Regions from separate parts of the Homo sapiens genome. Here region 2 is linked to region 1. Evidence: promoter capture Hi-C in human tissues and cell types (Jung and others, 2019). All regions are on one chromosome and are shown on one strand. Each heading gives the region's core, a stretch centred on a gene start or on the middle of the fragment in contact. The rest is flanking DNA. Distances are from core to core; before and after follow the strand shown. Region 1 holds the start of SEC14L3 (SEC14 like lipid binding 3). Region 2 overlaps OSBP2 (oxysterol binding protein 2).

Region 1 (6,191 bases), core at 1,967-4,466:
GAGAGGTTGGGGCGCAAGCAGCTCTATCTACCCACCTGCGGTTGTTTGTTTAAGTTGTGGTTGTTGCCATGGTCCCCTGAGAGCTTGGTAAATGAGGAGCCAAACACACATGGGACCTTACCTGTAGACAGTGTGCTCTGGGGTTTAGGGGGCAGGCTGGGGGTCTCTCCTTCCCCAAGGCCTTTGTTTCAAGGCAGGCAAAATTAACCCTTCTGGCCCCAAGACACCCTGCAGCCTGAATCCAGCTTGAATCCAGGCAGATCCAGGCTTCTACACAATGACGATTTAAAGCATTTATTGAGCACTTACTATATTCTGGACACAATATTAAGCCCTACAGGGGAAAGCAGGGTGGGCTGTGCAATCCAGAGTCAGATAGGTTTGGGTTCAAGTTCTGGCTCCTCATTTACTGGCTGTGTGACCTCAGAAAAGTTTCTTGATCTCTCTGAACTTCTATTTGTTTAGCTGTAAAATGGGAATACCCATACCTGCTTCTGAATGATTTGATAATGATATAAAGCTCCCAGCACAGAGGGTATGCTCACCAATGGGAGACTGTGAGCTCTATGCAAGCTGGGTCCTAATCTGTCTTGTTTGCTGTAATCTACCCCCTCCACATGCTTCTCACTTTCCCACCTCCATGCCTTTGCCCATGCCATCCCCTCCACTTGGGATGCCCTTTATTCTGCTCTCCATAAATCAAAATCCTTCCTTTCTTCAAGGCCTGGCTCAGATGCCAACTGCATCACATATAGGTGACTTTCATGCTTAGGCTCTCTCCCTAACTAAGGTGGAAGCTCCTAGAGCCAAGACTATGGGATAGCATAACAGCACAATGGCAGAGTGGTTAATTGCATGGGTTTACCCCTGGATAAGTTACTTCTCCATACCTCAGTTTGCTTATCTGCATAATGGGCGTAATAGTACCTACCCAACACCACAGGTATGTTCTGAGGTTTAAATGAGGTAATGCACTGCTTTTTTCTTTTTTGAGATGGAGTCTCACTCTGTCCCCCAAGCTGGAGTGCAGTGGCATGATCTCGGCTCACTGCAACCTCCGCCTCCCAGGTTCGGGCCATTCTCCTGCCTCAGCCTCCTGAGTAACTGGGATTACAGGCATCCGCCATCACGCCCGGCTAATTTTTGTATTTTTAGCAGACACGGTTTTGCCATGTTGGCTAGGCTGGTCTGGAACTCCTGACCTCAGGTGATCCACCTGCCTCGGCCTCCCAAAGTGCTGGGTTTACACGTGTGAGCCACCTCACCAGGCCAAAATGAGGTAATGCATGTAATGAGACCCCATCTCTACAAAAAATATAAGAAATTAGCAGGGCGTGGTGGAATGTGCCTGCAGTCCAGGCTACTCCGGGGGGTTGAGGTGGGGAGGATTGATTGAGCCTGGGGAGGTCGAGGCTGTAGTGAGCCGAGATCATGCCACTGCACTCCAGCCTGGGCAACAGAGTGAGACCCTGTCTCAAAAATAAAATAAAATAAAGTAGAATAAAATAAAAATGGGCCACCTGCACCATCCAATATGGTAACCACTAGCCAGATTGAACAATTTAAAGTAAAATGTATCAAAATCCAATTCAATTAAAACTTCAGTTCCTCAGTCACGCTAACCATCTTTCACATGTAACTAGTGGCTACCAGATATGTCTAACAGGACACCCCAGACAGAAGATGTCTACCATCACAGGAAGTTCTGTGGAGTGGCACTGTAGCTGATGAGGATTTGTGAACATAGCAAGGTACTTGACAAATCTGTGGTCTGGGTCAGGAAAAGAGCTCAGTGTGAAGGCTCACAACTCCTGAGGAGACCCCCAACCCTCCCTCCTGGCTCTCCTTCACAGTCTCCGATGCCCCTAGAAGTAACTAGCACACCTCACATTATAGGGATTAGGGTGAGAAAGGAGACTGGTGAGAAATGGGCAGGATTAGTGGCTCGGGAAAGGGCAGTGGAGGAACCCAATCTCTGTACATTACTGGCCTGGCAGGAAGTGGGTGTAGACAGCAGCTGGGGCTTTGCAGAAATTGAGGCTGGAATGTGAAATGGGGCAGGGCTGGGGTGTGGAGAGTTACCTAACTGTTCCTGAGTACATGCCACGGGCTCCCCAGGCAGAGGGAAATGGCCAGCATTAGCCCTGCCTTCTCCTTCTGGATCCAACTCTGTGAGGAGCCCAGAGCAAGGAAGATGTCCCTGAGAAGATGTCTGATACTGACCAACATCTACTAGCCTAAAGAGACCCTGGGTTAGCCCAGAATAGAGGCCCACTGTAGCTCAGGGGTGGGTACCCAGGATGCCCCAGGAGTAGGGGACCTAGAAAAGCCCTAGGCAGAATGGTGTGGGCTAGCCCAGCTGCTGGGGCCGAGGCTAGCCCGGGGTTGGTTTCAGCCCATGCAGACCCCCTCAAGGCTGAGATGTGGCCATGTGGCCATGTGGCCATGCTGCAGCCTCAAGCTGATGGTTTCTTCAGAGAGAGTCATGGATAACAGGGTCTCTCCCTTCCTGGAGCTGAAGCTTACAGCTCCAGGGGGGACCAGGAGAGCTGAAGGAGAGTATCCCTCAGATGCACACAACCCTTGACAGTCCCTATGTCTCATTAGATCTTCCCTCTAACCACATAAGGAGGGGAAGGCAAACATTAACGGCCCCATTTTATAAATGAAGCAAGTGACGTTCAAAAGATGCCATCTGTCCTCTTCTTGACTGTGGACACAAAAGAAGGACCTGGGCCTCCCACCCCCAACAAAGTGAATGAACTGTTTACTACACTGACCAAGCCTCAGAATCCTACCCTTTCAGAGCTGGGTAGAGGGGGGTGATCTTTGCAGAATCCTAAGTGTGGGAAGACTGGGGCTCAGGGAGAAAGGGTACCCACAAGGAGCGGTCCTCATTCTCCTGAAACTCCCCCTTCTCCAGGGCAGTGGTCACTGGAGGCCTGGGAGGGTCAGCGGGTTCTACAGGCACTCACTCTGGGCTCCAAGGTCACGGGAGGCCAGCCTCCCTTCCTCCCAGCTGCCTCCTCCTGGCAGGGGACCTCTGGCACACGCTCCATGCCCGCCTGCCCCTCCAGATCTGTCCCCAAGCCAAGCAGGGGACCTCACTTAATCCCAATTATGTAATCTGCAATTTAAACAGTTGGCCCATGAGGAGGCGCTTGGAGCCACGCCCAGGAGTGGGGGCAAAAGGACCCAGCTGGGTCAGGGCTGACAAACTAGGCTTGGCCTCTTGCCTATAGTGGCCACCACTCCTCAAGCCCCAGCCAGCACCATGAGCGGCCGAGTTGGAGACCTGAGCCCCAAACAGGCAGAGACCCTGGCCAAGGTGAGAGCCCCTCCCCCTGGAGTTCCGGAAGACCAGGGGAAAGGGGCTGGGGGGTGGAAAGAAGTGGCTGGAATCCTGCCCCACTCAGTTGATTCAGCATGTCCTTGACATTGTCTCTTTGGTGTTACCTCCCAAAGGGTCAAGCCCCACGGTGCCCAGTAACATCAACCCTGTCCCGGGCGGGGGTTGAGGGACTAGCACCACTTCCAGGCAATAACGTGGGTGGTGCCCACCCAAGTCAAGCCTGACTTCTTCTCATCCAGGAGCCAGAACCAGAGAGGTTTACCTGGCAGCCAGGTACCCCCGTTCCTCCCTCCCAGGCACCATAGGTAGGAGCTGAAAGATGCTGCTGGTCTGCCCTTTAACCCCTTCCTCTTTGGGATCCTGAAAGATGACCAGTCTGTAAAAGCCCAAGAGACAGAGCAGAAAGTGTTGTCTTTCAAAGAGCTAAAGGAAGAAGAGGACATATAATTATTAACCATGTTTTAATAGAAGATGGGATGAAAAAAAGCAGATGTTTTGAGGGCTAACACATGGAGGGAACTAAGAATGCATCCAAACTCCAATCCACTTATTCATCCACCCAATTATTTATCCTTTCTTCTTCTTTTTCTTCTTTTTTTTGAGATGGAGTCTCTGTCATCCAGGCTGGAGTGCTGTGGAGCGATCTCAGCTCACTGCAGCCTCTGTCTCCCAGGTTCAAGCAATTCTCCTGCCTCAGCCTCCTGAGTAGCTGGGATTACAGGCATGTGCCACCACACCTGGCTAATTTTTGTATTTTTAGTAGAGATGAGTTTTCACCATGTTGGCCAGGCTGGTCTCAAACTCCTGACCTCAGGTGATCCACCAACCTCAGCCTCCTAAAGTGCTGGGATGACAGGCGTGAGCCACCATACCTGGCTGTTTATCCTTTCTTTCATCCACCCATCCCTCTTCCTACCCACGCAGCCACCTATCCATCTTTCTTTCTCTCAATCACCCACCCATCTCTCCTCTGTCCATTCACTGATTTATCCACCCACCCACTCTCCATCCATCCATCTATCCATTCATCCATTGATTTCTTCTCCCTTTTTCCATCTACCTACCCACTCACCCATCTATTCTTCTTTCTAACCATTTATTCATCCATCTATCCTCCTTCCATTCATCCACCTATCCAGTGATCCATCTGCCCTTCTATTCAACCATTAACCCATCCTTTCATCAATGTGGGCCATTTTGCATGTGGGAGGAAAGGAGAGGTTGTGAAAACAGTCTTTGAGTCTGGAGGCCAAGGCTCAATGTGAGAGAGCCACTTTAACCAGCATCTCTCTTGCCAGTTCCGAGAAAACGTCCAGGATGTGCTTCCTGCCCTGCCCAACCCTGATGATTATTTCCTTCTACGCTGGCTCCGAGGTGAGGGCAGAGGTGGGAGAGGTTGGGATCAGGGGGCATCAAGAGGGGCCTGGTCTCAACTGCTCCAGAGTGTCTCATGGCTCTCAGGGTCCATCCACACAATCTTGCTTCACATGTTCAGGTCCAGAGGAGGGAAGGGGGTAGGGGAGCAAGGTCTCACCCAGGCCCCCAGTGTCCTCCATAGCTCCCACTGGCCAGGAGTAAGACAAGGCATCTTTCCTGTCTCACACCTTCCTTCTGTTTTCCCACAGCTCGGAATTTTGACTTGCAGAAGTCGGAGGCTTTGCTCCGCAAGGTGAGACCTATCCACTCTGGAAATTTATGGAGGGGATTTGTCAGGGGCAATCCATGCCTCAAGCCCCTCCTTCCATCCCTGTTCTCAGGGCACTGGGAGCCCAGTGGGATCTTACCACTCATTTCCCTTTCAGTACATGGAGTTCCGGAAGACCATGGATATTGACCATATCCTTGATTGGCAGCCCCCAGAGGTGAGCCAACACCGCCAAACACCTCAGTCTTTCACGGACGTACCACTCAAGGTCACTGGGGACCATGAATGAGGGGCAGCAAGCCTGAGAGGCCTGTGGAACCCGCAGGCCTGCAGTCTCCTTTCCTACAGTCATAATGAATGTTTCCTGGGGGCTTGCAAGGTCCAGGCCTAGGTTAAGATGTTAGCAGCATGAGCTTCTTTAATCATCACAATGATGGATGCTATTGTCCCCATTTTGTGGATGAGGACACTGAAGCCCAGCAAAAATTAGGTAACTTGCCCACAGTCCCATAGCCCAAGGTAGGGCTGGGATTTATGCTCAGGCCTGTTTGGGCCCCCAAACCCAGGCTCGTAACCACCACGGTTAGCCTGTGCTTCTGCACCCCTGCCCCCTAAGGCATTGCCTAAAGCATCCTGTCTGGGTGGGAAAGAAGTTTAGCCCATCAAGGCACTGATGAGGACAGTGCCACCACTGGCATCTTAGTAGAGTAATGGTCACGTCTTCACTTGTAGGGCATGTACCCGGATCTGGGCACTCTGCTTTGCCAACTTTATCTCAGGGACTTTCCCCAACAGTCCCAAGAGTGAGGGGTTATCCAAACCATTTTACAAAAAAAGTAGGTAGAATGGAGCTCAGAGAGGTGGTGTCACTTGCTCAAGGACACACAGTACAGAAGCAGCAGTATCTGCTTTTTTTTTTTTTTTTTGGATGGGGTCTCACTCTGTTGCCAAGGCTGGTGTGCAGTGTCATGATCATGGCTCACTGCAGCCTTGAACTCCTGGGCTCAAGTGATTCTCCCACCTCAGCCTCCCAAGTCTACAGATGTGTATTACCACAGCTGGCTAATTTCTTTTATTTTTGTAGGGACAGGGTCTCTCTCTGTTGCCCAAGCTGGTCTCAAACTCCTGGCCTCAGGAGATCCCATCTGCCTCAACCTCCTGAGTAGCTGGGATTACAGGCATGAGCCTCCATGC
Region 2 (6,398 bases), core at 1,979-4,478, 290 kb before region 1:
GTTTTAACATGCTCCCCCAGGAAGACTTCATGTCCCTCAAAGTAAGAGAGAAGTTATTCAGTTTTCTTTTCTTGTGTTGTTTAATCCATACCAGTCAAATTTTCACTCAAGTGAGTTCATAAGAGAGTTCTTTATACTGTCTGGCCAGCTGGGAGGATGGGGCTTCTCTCCTCCTCAGGACTGAGGGGTCTGAGGGTCAATAGCTTGAATGCACCTATATTTTCCCTTTGTTCTAAGGAGAGCATAACCCTGTTCCCATCCATCTTCTTAGGGAGTGAGGACAGAGGCAGTGGCCACAGAAGAACCTGGATCAGTATCTGCAGGCATTCTCCAAGCCCTAAGGAATGTCTCCCCCAACAAGTAAGAAACACTGTGCTTTGTGAAGTCATTCCTTCAAACGGGAAGAGAGGACTGTTAAGTGGACCAAGCCCACTTGCATCCCCAGGCACACAGGCAGCAGGGTTCCCGAGAGCTGTTTACAGAGCCAGAACAACGCCACACTCCCTGGGAATTTATTTCCACCTCAGTGGGATCACACCCAACAGGAACAGGAGGAAATTCTTCCAAGTCCTACCTGTTAGAGGATTTTCATTTTGGAGCAATAGGGTGGCAGGCTGTCCAGGTATTCTTTAGGGCCAGCCTCTAGGGCCACCAGCCACCCAACCCCCTCCTCATCCCCGCCCACCCCACTCTACTGCCTGCTCTAGTTGCTCTAAGGGCAGAGCCTGGGCTGCCTGGGATAATTCCAAGTGCTGGGCTGTGATATCAGAATAGAGTTATGACATCAATGGAGGGTAGGCGAGCCTAGGGGAGGCGAGAACCGGGGAGCCCCTGAGGCGCTAGGCTAGCCCCCCAGAAGTGAAGGCCCAAGAGGGAGGTGGCCAGCTCTGTATCGGTTTCTTACAAACCTGAACATCAGAAAATGACTCACAGGTACGGAGAGATTTGTTGCAAGCCAGCCAACCTGCTGGTGCTTCCCTAGACACTGAGTTACAGAAAAGAAAGCGAACAAGCCATCTTCTAGCGCCCCCCTGTGTCAAGTAAAAGGATACTATCTCTTTTCTGACTTGGAGGTTTGCCTTTGGACCAGGGAGTTGGGAGCAGAGACCCCAAGTGGGCTGGGGGTCAAGGTCCCCCAGGATAGGGTTAAATGCTCGTAGATAAAATGCAGGATGCCCAGTTACATTTGAATTTCAGACACACAATAAATAAATTTTAGTATATAGACTGCCCAAATATTGCATGAGACATCCTTATACTAAAATATTATTCGTTTTGTATTTGAAGCTCAAATTAAACTGGGTGACCTGTGGGTTTTTTTTTTTTTTTCTGTCACTCTGTTGCCCAGGCTGGAGAGCAGTGGCTCAATCTCGGCTCACTGCAACCTCCACCTCCTGGGTTCAAGCAATTCTCCTGCCTCAGCCTCCCAAGTAGCTGGGATTAGAGGCATGCACCACCACACCTGGATAATTTTTGTATTTTCAGTAGAAACAGGTTTCACCATGTTGGCCAGGCTGGTCTTGAACTTCTGACCTCAAGTGATCTGTCCACTTCAGCCTCCCAAAGTGTTGGGATTACAGGCGTAAGCCACTGCACCCGGCCAACCTGTGTTTGTATATTTTGAATCTGCCAATCCCACTCAAGGAGCTTTTGAAAAAAAATACAAATACCCTCTGCACCCAAAAGTCATTCTCATTCTGTTTTAGCAGGGCAGGGGACTTCTTGGGAACCTGTATTATTTTAAAGCTGCGAAAGTGACTATCAATAACTGCAGCTTACTTTAGTCGAGTGTTTGCCAAGCCGTGTGCCAAGATCTCTTCACACATTATCTAAACTAATCCTCACAGCACCTCTAAGAGTTGGTTCTATCATGAAACCCATTTTACAAAGGAGAGAAATGATGCAAAAGACGGCAAGCAACTTGTCCAAGGTCACACAGTGGGTAAGTGTGGGAGCCACGATTTGAACCCAGGCAGGCTGGCTCCAGCATCTCTGCTTCCACTGACTTAGAAATCTTTGATTGAAGGGACCCTGGGAAGCACAGAATTGAAGCTTCTAGGGGACTGACAAGCGGGGACTCTGAGGCTCTAGGAAGCCCATGCTCAGACTAACTGCTACGCTACCATGCTCGAGGGGCTGAGCCAAGGAGCAAACACCTGGGAGCAAACATCTGGCCCAGGCAGGAGGCTGGCTCAGAGAAGGCTTTCCTGAATGGCCTCTCCCTGGAGGGTAAACAGACTTGAGGAAAATAGGGTGTGGGAAGGGGCTGGATACTAGGGAACAGACCTTGCCAACAAGAGGTACAGCATTCACGCTGGCTGGCAGCAAGATGGTGTGCCAGTGAAGACAGCAGAAGCTGGATGGGTCTAGAGCGCAAGAGGAGCCAGAGAAGAGACATAAATCAAAATTGCATTTTTTTTTTTTGGAGACGGAGTCTTGCTCTGTTGCCCAGGCTGGAGTGCAGTGGTGCAATCTCAGCTCACTGCAAGCTCTGCCTCCTGGGTTCACCCCCTGCCTCAGCCTCCCGAGTAGCTGGGACTACAGGCGCCCGCCACCACGCCCGGCTAATTTTTTGTATTTTCAGTGGAGACAGGGTTACACCGTGTTAGCCAGGATGTCTCGATCTCCTGACCTCGTGGTCCACCCGCCTTGGCCTCCCAAAGTGCTGAGATTACAGGCGTGAGCCACCGCGCCCGGCCCAAAATTGCATTTTATTTTTATTTTATTTTTTATTTTTTATTTTTTGAGATGGAGTCTCACTCTGTCACCCAGGCTGGAGTGCAGTAGTGTAATCTCGGTTCACTGAAACCTCTGCTTCCCAGGTTCAAATGATTCTCTCCTGACTCAGCCTCCAAATAGCTGAGACTACAGTTGCACACCACTATGCCTGGCTAATATTTCTATTTTGGGTAGAGATGGAGTTTCGCCATATCGCCCAGGCTGGTCTCGAACTCCTGGGCTCAAGTGATCCACCCGCCTCGGCCTCCCAAACTGCTGGGAGTATTATAGTTGTATGGTTTACATTTTGAGTTAAATTTTATATAAATAAGAAGTATAAATCAAGATTCATTTTATTGCATATGGATGTCCAATTGTTCCAACACTACTTGTTGAAAAGACTAACCTTTCTCAATTAAATTGTTTCTGCACCTCTGTCAAAAGCCATCTGACCATATTTGTCTGGGCCCATTTCTGGACTCTCCATTCTGTTCCATTAATGTATATGTCTATCTCATTAATCTATATAGTGTTTGCCAACATCACACTGTCTTGTTTCTTTATGATAAGTCTTAAAATTGAGTAATTACTCCACCTTTATTCTTCTTTTTCAAAGTTGCTTTAGCTAGTCTAATTTCTTTATCTTTTCATATAAATGTATAATAAGTTTGTCTATGCTGAGAAAATGTCCTGCTGGGATTTTTTTTGGAATTGCATTCAAGCTACTGATCAGTCAAGGGAAAACTGACGTCTTTACTCTCTTGAATCTTCTGATCCATGAGCATTGTATGTCTCTCCATTTATTTTGGTCTTCTATTTCATCAGTATTTAACACTATTTACATATAGATACTATATTTGTTTTGTTATAATTATATCTAAGTATTTCATGGGGTCATTGTAAGTGATTTTTAAAAATTTTTTGTTACCAATTGTTCATTGCTAATACACAGAAATATGACTGGCCTTTATGTACTGACCTTGTATTCTGTGACCTTGTTAAACTCACTCTAAAAATATTTTTGTAGATTTCCTGGGATTTTTCTACACAGCCATCATGTCGCTTGCAAATAGGGATAGCTCTGTTTCTTTCTTCCCAATCTGAGTGCCTTTGACTTCTTTTTTCTTGCATTATAATACTGGCTAGTATTAGGATGAATATGAGGGGTGAGCATGGACATCCTTGACTTTACTGATCCTAGGCGGAAAGTAAAGCATTCAGTCTTCTATCACTACATATGATGTCAGTTTCTTGAAGATGCCCTTAATCAGGTGGAGGAGTCTCCTAGTTTGCTGAGAGTTTTTACCATGAATAATGTTAAATTTTGTCAAATGCCTTTTTCTGTATCAATTGATATTATAATGTAGTTTTTCTTAGATTGTTAATATTATGATTCCATTTATATTGATTTTCTTTTTTTTTTCTTTTTTTGAGACAGAGTCTTGCTCTGTTGCCCAGGCTGGGGTGCAGTGGTGCGATCTCCACTCACTGCAACCTCCGCCCTGCCAGGGTTCAAGCGATTCTCCTGACTCAGCCTCCTAAGTAGCTGAGACTACAGGTGTGCACCACCATGCCTGGCTAATTTTTGTATTTTCAGTAGAGACAGGGTTTCACCATGTTGGCCAAGCTGCTCTTGAACTCCTGACTTCAAGTGATCTGCCTGCATTGGCCTTCCAAAGTGCTGGGATTACAGGTGTGAGCCACTGCCCCCAGCCCCATTTATTGATTTTCAAACATGGAACCTATCTTGCACCTATCTTGCACTCATCTTGCACTCCTAGCATGAAATCCACTTGATCATGGTGTAATATTCTATTGTATTGCTGGTTTCAAATTGTTAATATTTTGTTGAAGATGTTTTCATCTATGCTCATGAGAAATATTGGTCCGAAGTTTTCTTTTCTTACACTATCTTTGTTCAGTTTGGTATCAGGGTATGCTGTCCTTATAAATGAGTTAGAAATTACTCACTCCTGTAATCCTAGCACTTTGGGAGGCCAAGGCGAGCAGATCACTTGAGGTCAGGAGTTTGAGACCAGCCTGGGCAACAGTGCAAGACTCTGTCTCAAAAAAAAAAAAAAAGCCGGGTGCAGTGGCTCACGCCTGTAATCCCAGCACTTTGGGAGACCAAGGCAGGCGGATCACCTGATGTCAGTAGTTCAGGATGACCCTGGCCAACATGGTGAAACCCTGTCTCTACTAAAAATACAAAAAAAAAAATTAGCTGGGCGTGGTGGCACATGCCTGTAATCCCAGCTACTAAGGAGGCTGAGGGAGGAGAACTGCTTGAACCTGGGAGGCAGAGGTTGCAGTGAGCCAAGACTGCACCACTGCACACTCCAGCCTGGGCAACAGAGCGAGACACTGTCTCAAAAAAAAAAGAAAAGAAAAATTAAAAAAGAAAAGAAATTACTCATTCCTCTTCTGTTTTCTGGAAGAGATTGTGTGGAAATAGTGTTATTCTTTTTTCAAATATTTGATAAAATTTACCTGTGAAATCATGTAGGCCTGAAGACTTCTTTTTTGAAGTGTTTTAAACTATGAATGCAACTTCTTTAATAGTTATAGGATTATTCAGTTTATGGATTTGATCTTGGGCAAGTGTTAGAATTTGATTTTTGAAGAATTGGTTCATTTCATCCAAGTTGTCAAATTTGTCAGCAGAGTTGTCTGTAGCATTCCTTTTATGTATTATGTATCTATTTTATGTTTTTGTAGTATTGTCCTTTTATGTTTGTTAGTGCTATTAATTGTTTATTTCATTCCTGATGTTGGTAATTTGATATTTTCATTTTAGCAGTCTATCAAATAAGTTGGGTTAAGGCCACAGGTAGTGACCAGCCGTCTCTGGGTGGTGGTTTCACTGTTTGTTCCATTTTCAAAGCCTTTGCAGTACTATTTGTTTTTGTTTTTGAGACAGAGTCTTGCTCTGGAGTGCAGTGGTGCAATCTCGGCTCACTGCAAGCTCTGCCTCCCAGGCTCAAGCGATTCTCCTGCCTCAGCCTCCCGAGTAGCTGGGATTACAGGTGTGCACCACCACGCCTGGCTAATTTTTGTATTTTTAGTAGAGACGGGGTTTCACCGTGTTGGCCAGGCTGGTCTCGAACTCCTGGCCTCAAGTGATCCACCTGTCTCGGCTTCCCAAAGTGCCAGGTTACACTGCGCCCGGCCCTTTGCAGTACTAGTTGGATCTGTTCCACATGTGTGCCAGCCAGTGGCCACAGGGACGTGGGTATTCATGCAGCTTTAAGTTCAGTTCTCAAAATCTTTAGTATGCTGTTTAGGATCAGATCCATCCATGTGCGGCTTGAACGTGAAGCCAGGAGTTCATGAAAACAACGTTATGGGGTCACTTTCCCAAGGTGTTCTCTTTCTGTGATTTCCTGTTTTTTTCTGGTTCTCTTGGGCTCTGTTTCAGTCCTCTGGCTGCCCACTTCCCACCACCACACCTATATCGGGGGCTAAGTGGTAGGAAGAGTGAGAGAAAAATGGAACAGGGGTTCCCTCACTTCTTGGGCCCAGAGCTCTTCCTACTGGTGTGCATGGATTCCTCTGAGTTTTTGGTACCTGCAGGCCTCTCATCGCCACTGCTATCACTGACAGGGGACCCTTTCCTCCTTGAGCCTGAACTAGAGGGCTTCTCCAGGAGTTTTCTCTGTCTGCTCACTTCTGGGTCTCCC

Evidence for each region. Contacts are between HindIII fragments. The study calls those that stand out against the background at their distance.
Region 2: a contact is called between a fragment that was not itself captured here and the fragment with the promoter of SEC14L3 in region 1, in 1 of the 25 tissues and cell types used here (lymphoblastoid cells).

The regions. Positions count from the first base shown.
Region 1 is chr22:30,469,042-30,475,232 of GRCh38, reverse strand. It overlaps SEC14L3 (SEC14 like lipid binding 3), which reads left to right and starts at 3,216. Exons shown (of 12, transcript NM_174975.5): 1 at 3,216-3,328; 2 at 4,651-4,726; 3 at 4,978-5,021; 4 at 5,155-5,214. The coding sequence starts at 3,275. The HindIII fragment of the contact is 19,065 bases long and covers 1,008-6,191 here.
Region 2 is chr22:30,758,569-30,764,966 of GRCh38, reverse strand. The region is part of intron 2 of OSBP2 (oxysterol binding protein 2); the gene reads right to left. Among named protein-coding and RNA genes, the nearest start is that of MIR3200, 30 kb to the right of the region's middle. RefSeq lists a silencer at 988-1,037. The HindIII fragment of the contact is 5,000 bases long and covers 729-5,728 here.